2 separate regions of the Homo sapiens genome follow, and region 1 is linked to region 2. Evidence: promoter capture Hi-C in human tissues and cell types (Jung and others, 2019). All regions are on one chromosome and are shown on one strand. Each heading gives the region's core, a stretch centred on a gene start or on the middle of the fragment in contact. The rest is flanking DNA. Distances are from core to core; before and after follow the strand shown.

The links. Contacts are between HindIII fragments. The study calls those that stand out against the background at their distance.
Region 1: a contact is called between a fragment that was not itself captured here and the fragment with the promoter of MEGF10 in region 2, in 3 of the 25 tissues and cell types used here (H1 embryonic stem cells, aorta and pancreas).

The regions. Positions count from the first base shown.
Region 1 is chr5:127,182,448-127,188,027 of GRCh38, reverse strand. No RefSeq gene overlaps it. Among named protein-coding and RNA genes, the nearest start is that of MEGF10, 110 kb to the left of the region's middle. The HindIII fragment of the contact is 4,718 bases long and covers 973-5,580 here.
Region 2 is chr5:127,287,786-127,293,135 of GRCh38, reverse strand. MEGF10 (multiple EGF like domains 10) reads right to left here and starts at 2,340. Exons shown (of 25, transcript NM_001256545.2): 1 at 2,080-2,340. It overlaps LOC105379199, which reads left to right and starts at 2,400. Exons shown (of 4, transcript XR_007058921.1): 1 at 2,400-2,558. The HindIII fragment of the contact is 12,500 bases long and covers 1-5,350 here.

The sequences.
Region 1 (5,580 bases), core at 2,082-4,581, 110 kb after region 2:
TTGTTCCGTAGTGCCCTTTCTCTTTCACTACAAAGGACAAATGTGTCTTTCATTAGTCACAGTCGTAGCTCCAGCCCCACATCGCCCAAGGAATCAGGACAGCTGACACAACATCTGTGCAAATATGACTATGGCGGAATTGAGTGTGACTGAATGATTCCATGAGTCCAATTCACCTTGGATTAAGCTAGGGAACCAATTTCCAGGACCTTGAAAACAGCTGTCATGGAGCAGACAGGCCATTTAGCAAGAGGCACAGATATGGGGACACTGGCTTGGGCCATTTGCTTCTTTTCATTTCCAGAAAAGCTCCAGCAGCCCGTCCTGCTCCACCTTTCCTATCAGACTTATCATTGTTTTTTGAAACTGTGTTGCTCACCCTAGTGTGTGGATCTAATGATGCATCAAGTGTTTCTGTTTGTATGGGGGGTTTTTTTTGTTTTATGATTTGGGTTTTCTTGTTTTTGTTTGTTGTTGTTGTCATTATATTTATTGGTTGCTATTCAGAGAAGCTAAGGTCAGAGTTCTTTATGTTCGGCTTTAAGCTATTAGGCTCTTCTTTCCTATCTTTGATCAAAAGTATAATTTTGCATGGAAGAAATATAGAAATTGGATTAAAGTGTATCTTTGTGAGTTGTAGAAACTAGCTTGGGTTCAACAGGGGCAACTTGAGGGGGGGTGCTTTGGACACAGAAAAATCATGTCAGATCTAGGCTTCCCTGTTTGCACTCCTTTCTCTCCCCCATCCTGTCATCTTCAGCTGCTCGAAAAAAATATTAAATTACAGGTAACCAGAGTTGCTAGTGTCAAGAGAAATTGAGAGAGAATATCAGTAAAATATGTGTAACCAGTACATCTTATTTCACAGGCTGTATCTTGAATAACAGCCAACCTCATTCCAGGAGGGTCCCTAATGCAGTGTTCCAGCCCCCAGTGTCCATATTAACAGGAAATCAGTGTATCTGTTAGACCCCTTACACCTTTCATACATCTAATACTTCCGGGATGCTAAGTAGCCTGAGAAGGGAGTCCTGCTAATTCCTATCTCACTATTTTGCTACTTTGGAGCCAAAGGTTCTCCCTTAACGTTGGAGATTTTAGCAAGCATTACAAAAGCTGATTGATTTACGATGCACAGTCACACTAAAGGCATCTGAAGCCTAAGCAGCTTGGAAGTGACTTATTCTGCACCGATCCTGCTGTTTCTCCTGGTGCTTAGATATGGTCCTAAGTGATCAGGTGAGGCGAGGCATCCACCCATTCACACCCTGCCCGGGCTACAGTGGTTTTTCCAGGTTCCATGCCTTAGAATTCCAATCCCTTAATGGTGGGCTCAGCCAAGAAGTTCCACATCAACCTTACTGGGCTTCTAGTTGTAGCTCTTTAGATTCACTCCACAGCCTTTTCCCCAGATCAGGAGGCCCACCCTGAAATCCTGGAATGTTGGTGTCAGAAACCTCATGGTCCCAAAATTACCTGCCCACCCCTTCTTTCTCTTTTTTCTTTTTCTTTTTCTTTTTTTCTTTTTTTGACAGAGTCTCCCTCTGTTGCCCAGGCTGGAGTGCAGTGGCACGATCTCGGCTCACTGTGACCTCTGCCTCCCGGGTTCAAGCGATTCTCCCACCTCACCCTCGCAAGTAGCAGGGATTACAGGCATGCGCCACCACACCTCCTTCTTTCTATTTTTAGGCCCAAGCCTAGGGTCACATCCTACCACCTAATGAGTGAAATACTCTTCAGAGGAGGAAAACCCACTAACAACTGCTACTTGAGGATCTATAACTCCTACACCCCAAAGTCTGTTTAGATACAAGGCAGTCATCTGCTTTCATATATAATGTTTTCTTGAAAATGTGTATAACAGTCAAATATGATAACATTGAAAGATTTACTGGCATCAATTCATATGCACAAAAATATATTTAATTATGTTGTTAATATACATTGTGGTGAAAGTGGTCATTTCTGATAATAAGGAAATGGGGAGGGGTGAAGTGAGGAAACAAAGGCTGCTTTTCATAAGACAACAGAACTCTTTGTCTCTTTAAAATATGACCTTTTGCCAGGCACAGTGGTTTACACTTGTCATCCCAGCACTTTGGGAGGCCAAGGCAGGAGGATCACTTGAAGCTAGGAGTTCAAGACCAGCCTGGAGAACAAAGCGAGACTCCATCTCTTTCAACAATTTTAAAAATTAGCTGGGCACAGAGTCCCAGCTACTCAGGAGGCTGAAGTGGGAGGATCTCTTGCATACAGGAATCTGAGGCTGCAGTGAGCTATGTATGATTGTGCTACTGCACTCCAGCCTGGGCAACAGAGTGAAGCCCTGTCTGTAAAAACTAATAATGATAAGTAAATAAAATATGATTATATAAAAACAGAAAAATTAAGAATAAATACTACTTTGAGATAAAACAGAAAAGCTTTAGAGAGAAGCAAATCATATACATGGTCTCAAAACGGAATGGCTTTGGACTTCTCAGCAACAACGCTAGAAACCAGAGACACTGGAGAAATGCTTTCTAATTTTTGAAGAAAATGGTTTCGAAATTAGAATTCTATACCTGACCAAACTTACGTCTTACAGAAGGACAAGGACATCTTTAGGCATACAAGGGATATATTGGCCAAGTTAGTTTAGCAAGGCAGAAATTACTGTAGCCAGTTTAAGCCAAAAGGACTAGTTATGACGTAGTGAGAGCTCAAGACTGAGGGAAGGAAACGGATTGTGCTTCCAGTTGTGACACCCAGCTCCACAGCACAACGCTGCTCACACAAGCCATGAAACCAGGAGGCTACTGCCACCAGTGCCAGTTCCAACCTATGGCCTCTGCCATCACCAGGAAGTTGACAAATCAGGTGCTATGGTTGCACATTTAGACTCCAGAGTCCTGCTGTACTGCCGGGCCCAGAGCTGCACCAGCAAAGTAACAACCTCAGACCCTGGCTTTTTCCCAAATAATTCAGTTCTGGACCCAGATTTTGAATCTGGCACAGATGCAGTTGACTGGTGGAATCAAAACCACATGTCTGCAATCTCACAACTGGAAAATGACCTGAAAAATCTTCGTTAGGAATGCAGAATTTATAACGTGGGAAACTGCTAAAACAATGTTCGGAAACTGGAGCCAGCCTGAATAACAACTGACCACTATGTATAGACATACATTTTACCTCTTACAGACTCTCTTAGGACGCTATTAGAAGATACTAGTTTCTTCACCAAACATGAGAATGAATCAAGAAAGAGGTAGATACAAAATTAGGAAACTGGAAATCTAACATAAGAAGGCAGGCAAAGGAAATTCCCAAGATCCTAATGAAGGGAAGGTGTGAACAGAATCCAGCATAGAGCAGGAAGTTAGAGCCCGCACGGAGGTTGAGGAGGAATCGGAGAGATTGCCTGATGTGTTCAACTCTATTGAAAGTATCCTACAACTGTCAGAGAATTAAGATAGGCACGTGATTCACTGAACAACTTGGGTAGCTGGGGGAAAACAAGTATTAATCCTAAGAAAATAAAATGTTATATAAGAAAAGGAATATAATCTTAGTGTGCTACATGTCTAAGGTGTGAACTGTATTCACATGGACACAATGGTATAAACATGGAGTGCTGATAATGAAAACAACTATATTGGAACTATACTGGAAGAATGAAGAACATATATTGTTCAACTATATTGGAATTGAAGAAATGAAGTAAGGAAGGGAAGAGAATCTGTAGGAAGGCCAACACAGTGATCACCTGAGCTAGCTTCTCATTCTCCATGCAAGGAAGCCAAAGAAAATAGCTAACATTTTAAAATCAAGAAATAATGATATAGGCATTTATTTAGAATGTGGAAGCAAATACCAGAAAAAAAAAAGCAAAAATAAAAGTTGAAAATTTTTGCCTTAAGGGAGCAGGATTGTGGAGTAGAGAAGGGTTAGGATTGTTAATTTTTATTATAAGCCTGACAGTATTGTTTGACTTTTAACGTATATGTACACGTGTGCATGCACACACACACATACACTAAAATAAAAAGTAAATGTAGAGAACAGCATCTCTTGCTGTACCTTCATAGCCTTTCCCTCCCTAAGACTCATCCATCTCCTGTCTGTTTCTTTCCTTTCTATGATACACCTGCTCATTCTATAAACCATTCTCTCATCCTGTCAAGATGAAAAACTACATTGGCCACTGGCTGCTTCTGAAAATCAACCCTAGAGAAACTATAGAAGCCAGAGGGAAACATATTTGAGAAACTAATGACAAACCATAAAATAAAATAAAACACTGTGATAAGGCCCCAGGGGAGTCTGAAGACTCAGGATTGTTATATGTTGGGGGAGGGAAAAGAGAGAATTGCTTCAGCCTGGGGGGAAGGCAGCCATAGGTAGCTACTAGAAGGTCAAAGGGGAACAGCGTTTCTGTTTCTGTTCTGCCACGTGGACCATCACGGCCTGCCCAATCACCACAGAGATTGGTACCAGCAACCTAAGCTACAGGTGTCAGGAGGGTACTACAAGTGCAGTACCAAAGCCCTGCAGGAAGAAGGAGGAATGAAAGGCAGGCGTGTGCCAACCAGTATCCTGGGCATTCACTGCTGTACTACTCCCATTAGGGAACGTGAATGAAATCTATGCAGACTGCTTGTAAAGAGTTTAAATATGAAACATGGACTAGAGACATTGTGTCCGGAATCGGTTCCTTCCAGTGGGTTCTTGGTCTCACTGACTTCAAGAATGAAGCTGCGGACCCTCGCAATGAGTGTTACAGTTCTTAAAGATGGTGTGTCCGAAGTTTGTTCCTTCAGATGCTCAGATGTGTCCGGAGTTTCTTCCTTCTGCTGGGTTTGTGGTCTCGCTAACCTCAAGAATGAAGCTGCAGACCTTCACCGTGTTGCAGCTCTTAAAGGTAGCGCATCCAGAGGTGTTCATTCCTCCTGGTGGGTTCGTCGTCTTGCTGGCTTCAGAAGTAAAGCTGCAGACCTTCACAGTTAGTGTCACAGTTCCAAAGCGCAGACCCAAAGAGGGAGCAGCAGCAAGATTTATTGCAAAGACCAAAAGAACAAAGCTTCCACAGTATGGAAGGGTACCTGAGCGGTTTGCTGCTGCTGGCTCCCGTGGCCAGCTTTTATTCCCTTATTTGGTGCCGCCCATGTCCTGCTGATTGGTCCATTTTACAGAGTGCTGATTGGTCCATTTTACAGAGTGCTGATTGGTGCGTTTTTACAGAGTGCTGATTGGTGCGTTTACAAACCTTTAGCTAGACACAGAGTGCTGATTGGTGCGTTTTTACAGAGTGCTGATTAGTGCATTTACAAACCTTTAGCTAGACACAGAGCACTGATTGGTGCGTTTACAATCCTTTAGCTAGACAGAAAAGTTCTCCAAGTTCCCACCTGACCCAGCAGCCCAGGTGGCTTCACCTCTCAACATGATTTGGCCGTGGTGGGAAAATTGGGATAATCACCATCAGTTCTTCAGGCCCTGAGGTTCCATCCCCTGGGCAGTTTCCAAAGTTTTAATTCATTTGGAGGTACATAAACTGCAGGCTGGGATTTAGCCCTTTTCCAACACATAGCCGTGGCT
Region 2 (5,350 bases), core at 1,091-3,590:
GTTATTCTACTCTTTCCCCACCTCTCAACACAAGTTTATACATAATAAAACTGATGCCTAAATGGAGAAAAGCAATCTGCTTGAGGTCATAGGGAATATTTTGTTCAATTTCTCAATGATACGTGCTTTTTATGTGCTCTTATGAGCATTTTAACAGGTATGGAAATTGTGTAGCTAAAAATACTTGGGATTTAATTTATAGAGTGCTAGGTCACACACTTGAAATGGGAGGAGGCACATAAAGCCAATACTCATGCATAGCCATTTTTAAAATATAAAACCTAAAACAGTGCTTGACATGTAATAGATGGTTAATAAATACTTACTGAACAAATGAGTGACCTCTAAAAAATAGGTTAAAGAAAGTATATTAATGTAAAGGATTTCCAAGGAGGTATACAGGCTGTGAACTGAGTGTAGATTTCCCACCTCCTCACCTGTTCCAAGTAGTCTTTGGTGCCCATCCATGACCCACCACCCTATAAATTCCAGCTCTGCCATATACACCTTTATTTTTCCAACTGAAAGTGCCACAACAAAAAAGCAATACAAAGATCATGTCTGAGCTAAGTTTGACAATAGGTGGTAGTGAAGCTTACAGATGAGCACAGTCTTCAAAGTCCATCCAAATAGGAATAATAGCTAACACTTACTGACAGCTAATAGAAGCTATACTAGAGGGATACAACAATAGTTAATGCTAGCTATACAATAATAATAAAGCTAATTTGTGCCTACTATGTGTCAGGCTTGTTAGTCCTTCACATGCATTAACTTACTTAATCCCTTTAACAATTGTCTGATGTAAGTGCTATTATTATCATTTTGATTTTACATATGTGGATAAACAGATTAAGTAACTTACCCCAAAATCACAGAACTGAAAAGTGGCAGAGTTGTGAGCTGAACCCAGGCTGGCGGGTGCCCAGAGTTTACCAACTGAACTCTTTGAACTCTCAGTGGTAAAATTAAAAGTTCCCTGCAAGCTGACCTCTTGGAGCACTCGTGTCAGGAAGATGACATTTCTGGATAATATAAATTGGCCCCAGTATTTCTGTCCATAAGGAATGAAGCATTTTTATTTGGGAACCCTATACACAAAGTGAGACCCAGGATATAAAGGAGTAAGGCAAGAAGAACAAGAAGAAATGTCATTCTCTTCTGCCTTGGCACAGCATGGTTATCACAGCCTAAGAACAATAATAATGGCTAATTTTGGCTAATAAGATCTCCAACTTTGACTTTCTCCTAAATAATGTGGGTCCTTGCGTGAGGATATTTTCTAAAGAAGCAGCAAAGATATTGCCATCATTCATTTGCTCAGTGGTGTCACTAAGAAAAATACTTCCAGAAAGAAAATTAAGGCCAAAACACTTCCTTAAACCAGGCGTAAAAGTCCTCTAACAAGGAATTTAAAAGAAAAAGATCAACACCGGATTTATCTTTCTTAAGTAACTATCACTTGAAAAACCGTCCCTCCCAGCACTCCTTAAGGAGCCAAGCATACTGACAAGGCCCCTTTGGTCTAAGACTGCGACCTCACACCCCTACTGATCGCTGAGAACTCAGGAAAGGGGAGCATCCCGCCAGCCTAGAGCGTTATCTGCACAATCTGAATACCAAGGACGGGAGAAAGAGAAGTTTAGAAAACAGTGAAGATCCCAGAAAGGAAGTTCAACTGACCTAGAAGAAAGGGCCCAGCTGAAACTGCCTTTCAAGCTCAGTCCGATTCCCCACAAATCTCCCTACATCCAGCTATATCGCCCGGCAAAATGAAACAAACACAAGGTAAGGCAATACAAGGGCAGGAATTATGCAAAATAAAATGCGTAATGAGGATGTCTCTCCATCAAAAATACTCCAGGATTTTCCTACACAATCCCATGTAACAAAACCAAATGCAAACAACAATAAACCCTTAAGAAGCGCATGAACAACGCAGACTGAGCCCATCTCGCCCCACCTCACGCCGCACCCCGGTACCCTGGCTAAGGAAAATGTGACCCCCGCCCATGAGAAGCCTTCCGGCGTCCGGCCAAGGTCCAGGAGCCGCCGGAGTTGAGTTTGCCCAACTCTTACCCAGGTCCAGAGATCTTGAGAATCGCAGCGCAACCTTTTCTCCCCGGTCTTCACCCAAAGCCAGCCAAGACACAAAATCTGTTCCAATCAACGCGGTTAGCGTCCAAGCAGCGTCCCAGAAGAAAGCAATCTTTGGGAGTCTTCTTTCAGGCGTAAAGGTGGAGAAGCGGGAAAGAGGAACGTCTCAACGCGTTCCCAGTCGCCCAGTTTTGCGCACCGGGAAAGTACTTGCTGCAAACTTGAACAAGGTTTTCTCTGTCTGGCCCGAGATGCTGGAGGGGGTGGGGGCGGGTAACCCGAGCCGGGGCCGGGATTCGAGCAGTTGCCGCTGCTGCAGCTGCTGCTGCCGGGGCAGTGGCCGCTGGGGGGTTGTCGCTTGGCGCCGCGCGCAGTCCCTAGCGCAACATGCAGGATCTTCCCGGCCTGACTGCTGCACCTCGATCGTGAGTCGCCCCTGCCTGAGCGGCTTCCACCGCCTGGTGGGTGACCCCGCCAAAGGCCTGGTCGCGAAGTTAGCAAATGTTGGGGTCACCGCAGGGGGTGACCGAAGGGGTGTCAGAGTGGGTGCCCGCCTGATTCCCAACCCACGTTGGGTGCAAGTCCCTCGGCAGAGTCCCTGGGAGGTGTTCTAGACCCTCTGTAAGGATTTGTGGGACGGTGGCCGGCGCCCGAGCGGCCAACTGGAGTGGACGGCGGGTCCTCAGTGGTGTCAGGGGAGAAAGCGCAAAGGTGGGACCCAGAAAGGATGGTGATTAAGCCGTGCCAGAGAATGTGATGTGGCAGCAAAGTACATGGAAAGGTGGGGCGGGGAGGTGAAGGCAGAGGGTGGAGGGTGGGATAGTCTGCTTTACCATGGAGGGGCGGAGAGAGAACTCCCCGGACGCGCAGGAAAATCCCCCCAGGTCCTCGGAGGCCTCGCGCGGCAATTTATTGGGGAATGGCTCCCTCTGCCGACTCGCCGAGGAGGCCCCGGGAGGCCCAGTGATGGAATGTTAAAACCATGAACGGGCTTTTCCATTTGTGGGTTAGACAGGACATGAATTCTGGAATCTGCTTCTCTGACTGTCCATCTTCCTCTTCCAGACTAAAGAGTTTTCCAGCTTTTACAGGACCCCAAAAGATACAAATTTGACTGCTGCAAAGTTCTTTCTTGTGTCGTTGAATTCTATCCCCCTCTCCCCACAAAAAAACAAAAACAGGTTTAAGCCCCATAACCACTCCAGGTAACCATCTCCTACCAGGCTTCTCTTCCTCCCATTAATAAGAACTCTTTCTTTTTAGAGAGACTTCAAGAGCGTTCGAGTCCCTACTCAATAACGCTCCTGGAAAATAGTACAGACTCCATATTATGTTTGAGTGAATAAATGAATGGAATGAATGAACATAGATATGTTTGAAGCCCCTCACCATCCTCTTTACTCTCCCTGGAAATACACAGGGGAAGACTGTTTTGGTGTTTGTTTATTTGTTTGTTTAGCAGTCATCATTGCCCCTTCTCTGGTAACAGTACCTCCATTTTTCTTTGAGATACCATCCCTGCCACAAGGACAGCAGTCTGGGTGGAAGGTCAGTCAGGATGGTCCAGCTTTTCCCTGTCCAGAAGAGAGCAACTGACCTCAGCTAAGCCCCTCAGGCCCTCTCTGCCAGGAGTTGGAACTTTGATCTGGGCAGCACAGGCACAAATAATTCTAGAGGTGATTAATCCATATGGCTGTTTTCTAAGGAAATTGGCTGTTAGTTCATGCCACTTATTACCCAAAGATATTTTGCTTTATGAAACTTGGTTGCCCCACTTTCCTTTTAATTTTTTAATCAACTTTATTGGGGGATAAGTTACATTCCATATATTACACTCATATTAATTATACAGCTTCATGAGTTTTGAATAATGTACACACCCATGTAACCACTGCTTCAATCAAGATAATGAACAATTCCATCACCTCAGAGGGTTGTCTTGCACCCCTTTAAAGTCAACTTCTATCCCACCTCATATTTGGCCCGCTTAGCTGTTTTCTGTAACTACAGATTAGATTTGTCTTTTCTAACATTTCATATGAATGGAATCACTTACATATTCCTTTGTGTCTGACTTCCTTCACTCCACACAATGTTTTTGAAACTCATTAATGTTGTGCCTGTATCTGAAGTTTGTTCCTTTTTATTGCTGAGTAGTATTCCATTGTATGGATATACCACAATTTGTTTGCCAGTTTACCAAATGATGGACATTGGGGATGTTTTCAATATGGGGTTATTATGAATAAAGCTGCTAGGAACAATCTTTAACAAGTCCTTTTGTGGACATACATTATTATTTTTCTTATCTTACAGGAGTAAAATTATTATTACAGTAACTGTGTGTTTAACTATATAGAAAGATGAACTGCTTTCCAAAGTGGAAAACATTTTACATTCTCACCAGCAAGATATGATAATTGCTTCACATCCTCATCAACACTGGGTAGTTTCTGTCTTCTTATTTTTGCCATTCTAGTAAGTATATAGTGGTATCACATCGTGGTTTTAATTTGCGTTTCCTTACTGACTAATGATGGTGACCATAAAAGATGTTTACCAGCTTTTCATGTGCTCTCATGCCACCTGTTCTTTGATAAAGTGTCTGAATTTATTGCCCAATTTTTAATCAAGTCTTTGGATTCTTATTATTGAGTTGTAGGAGTTCTTTATATACCAGGCATTTGTTAGATATGTATATAACCAATATACACTCCCAGTCTGTTTCTTGTCTTTCAATTTCTTAATAGTGTCTTTCAAACAGCAGTTTTTAATTTTGATAAAGTCCAGTTTATCAAGCGTGTTTTTGTGTGTGTGTGTTGTACTTTTAGGTTTTACATAAGTAATCTTTGCTTACCCCAAGGTCATGAAGATTTTCTATGGCTTCTTATAGAAGTTTATAGTTTTAGCTGTTATATTTAGGTCTACAATCTATTTGATGTTAACCTTTGTGTATGGTATGAAGTAAGGGCTGAGGTTCATTATTGTCTACATGGATATCCAGTTGTTTTGGCACCATTTGTTGAGAAGATTATCTTTTTTCCCATTGAGTAACTGGATACCTTTATTGAAAATCAATTGGCCATAGATGAGTGAGTCTATTTCAGGATTCACTCATTATTCCTTTCATTTGATCTATATTTCTATTCCTATGCCAAAACCATACTGTTCAGATTGCTATAACTTTATAATAGGACTCCAACTTAGATGTAATAAGTCTTCCAACTGTGCTTTTATTTTTTTTCAAAATTTG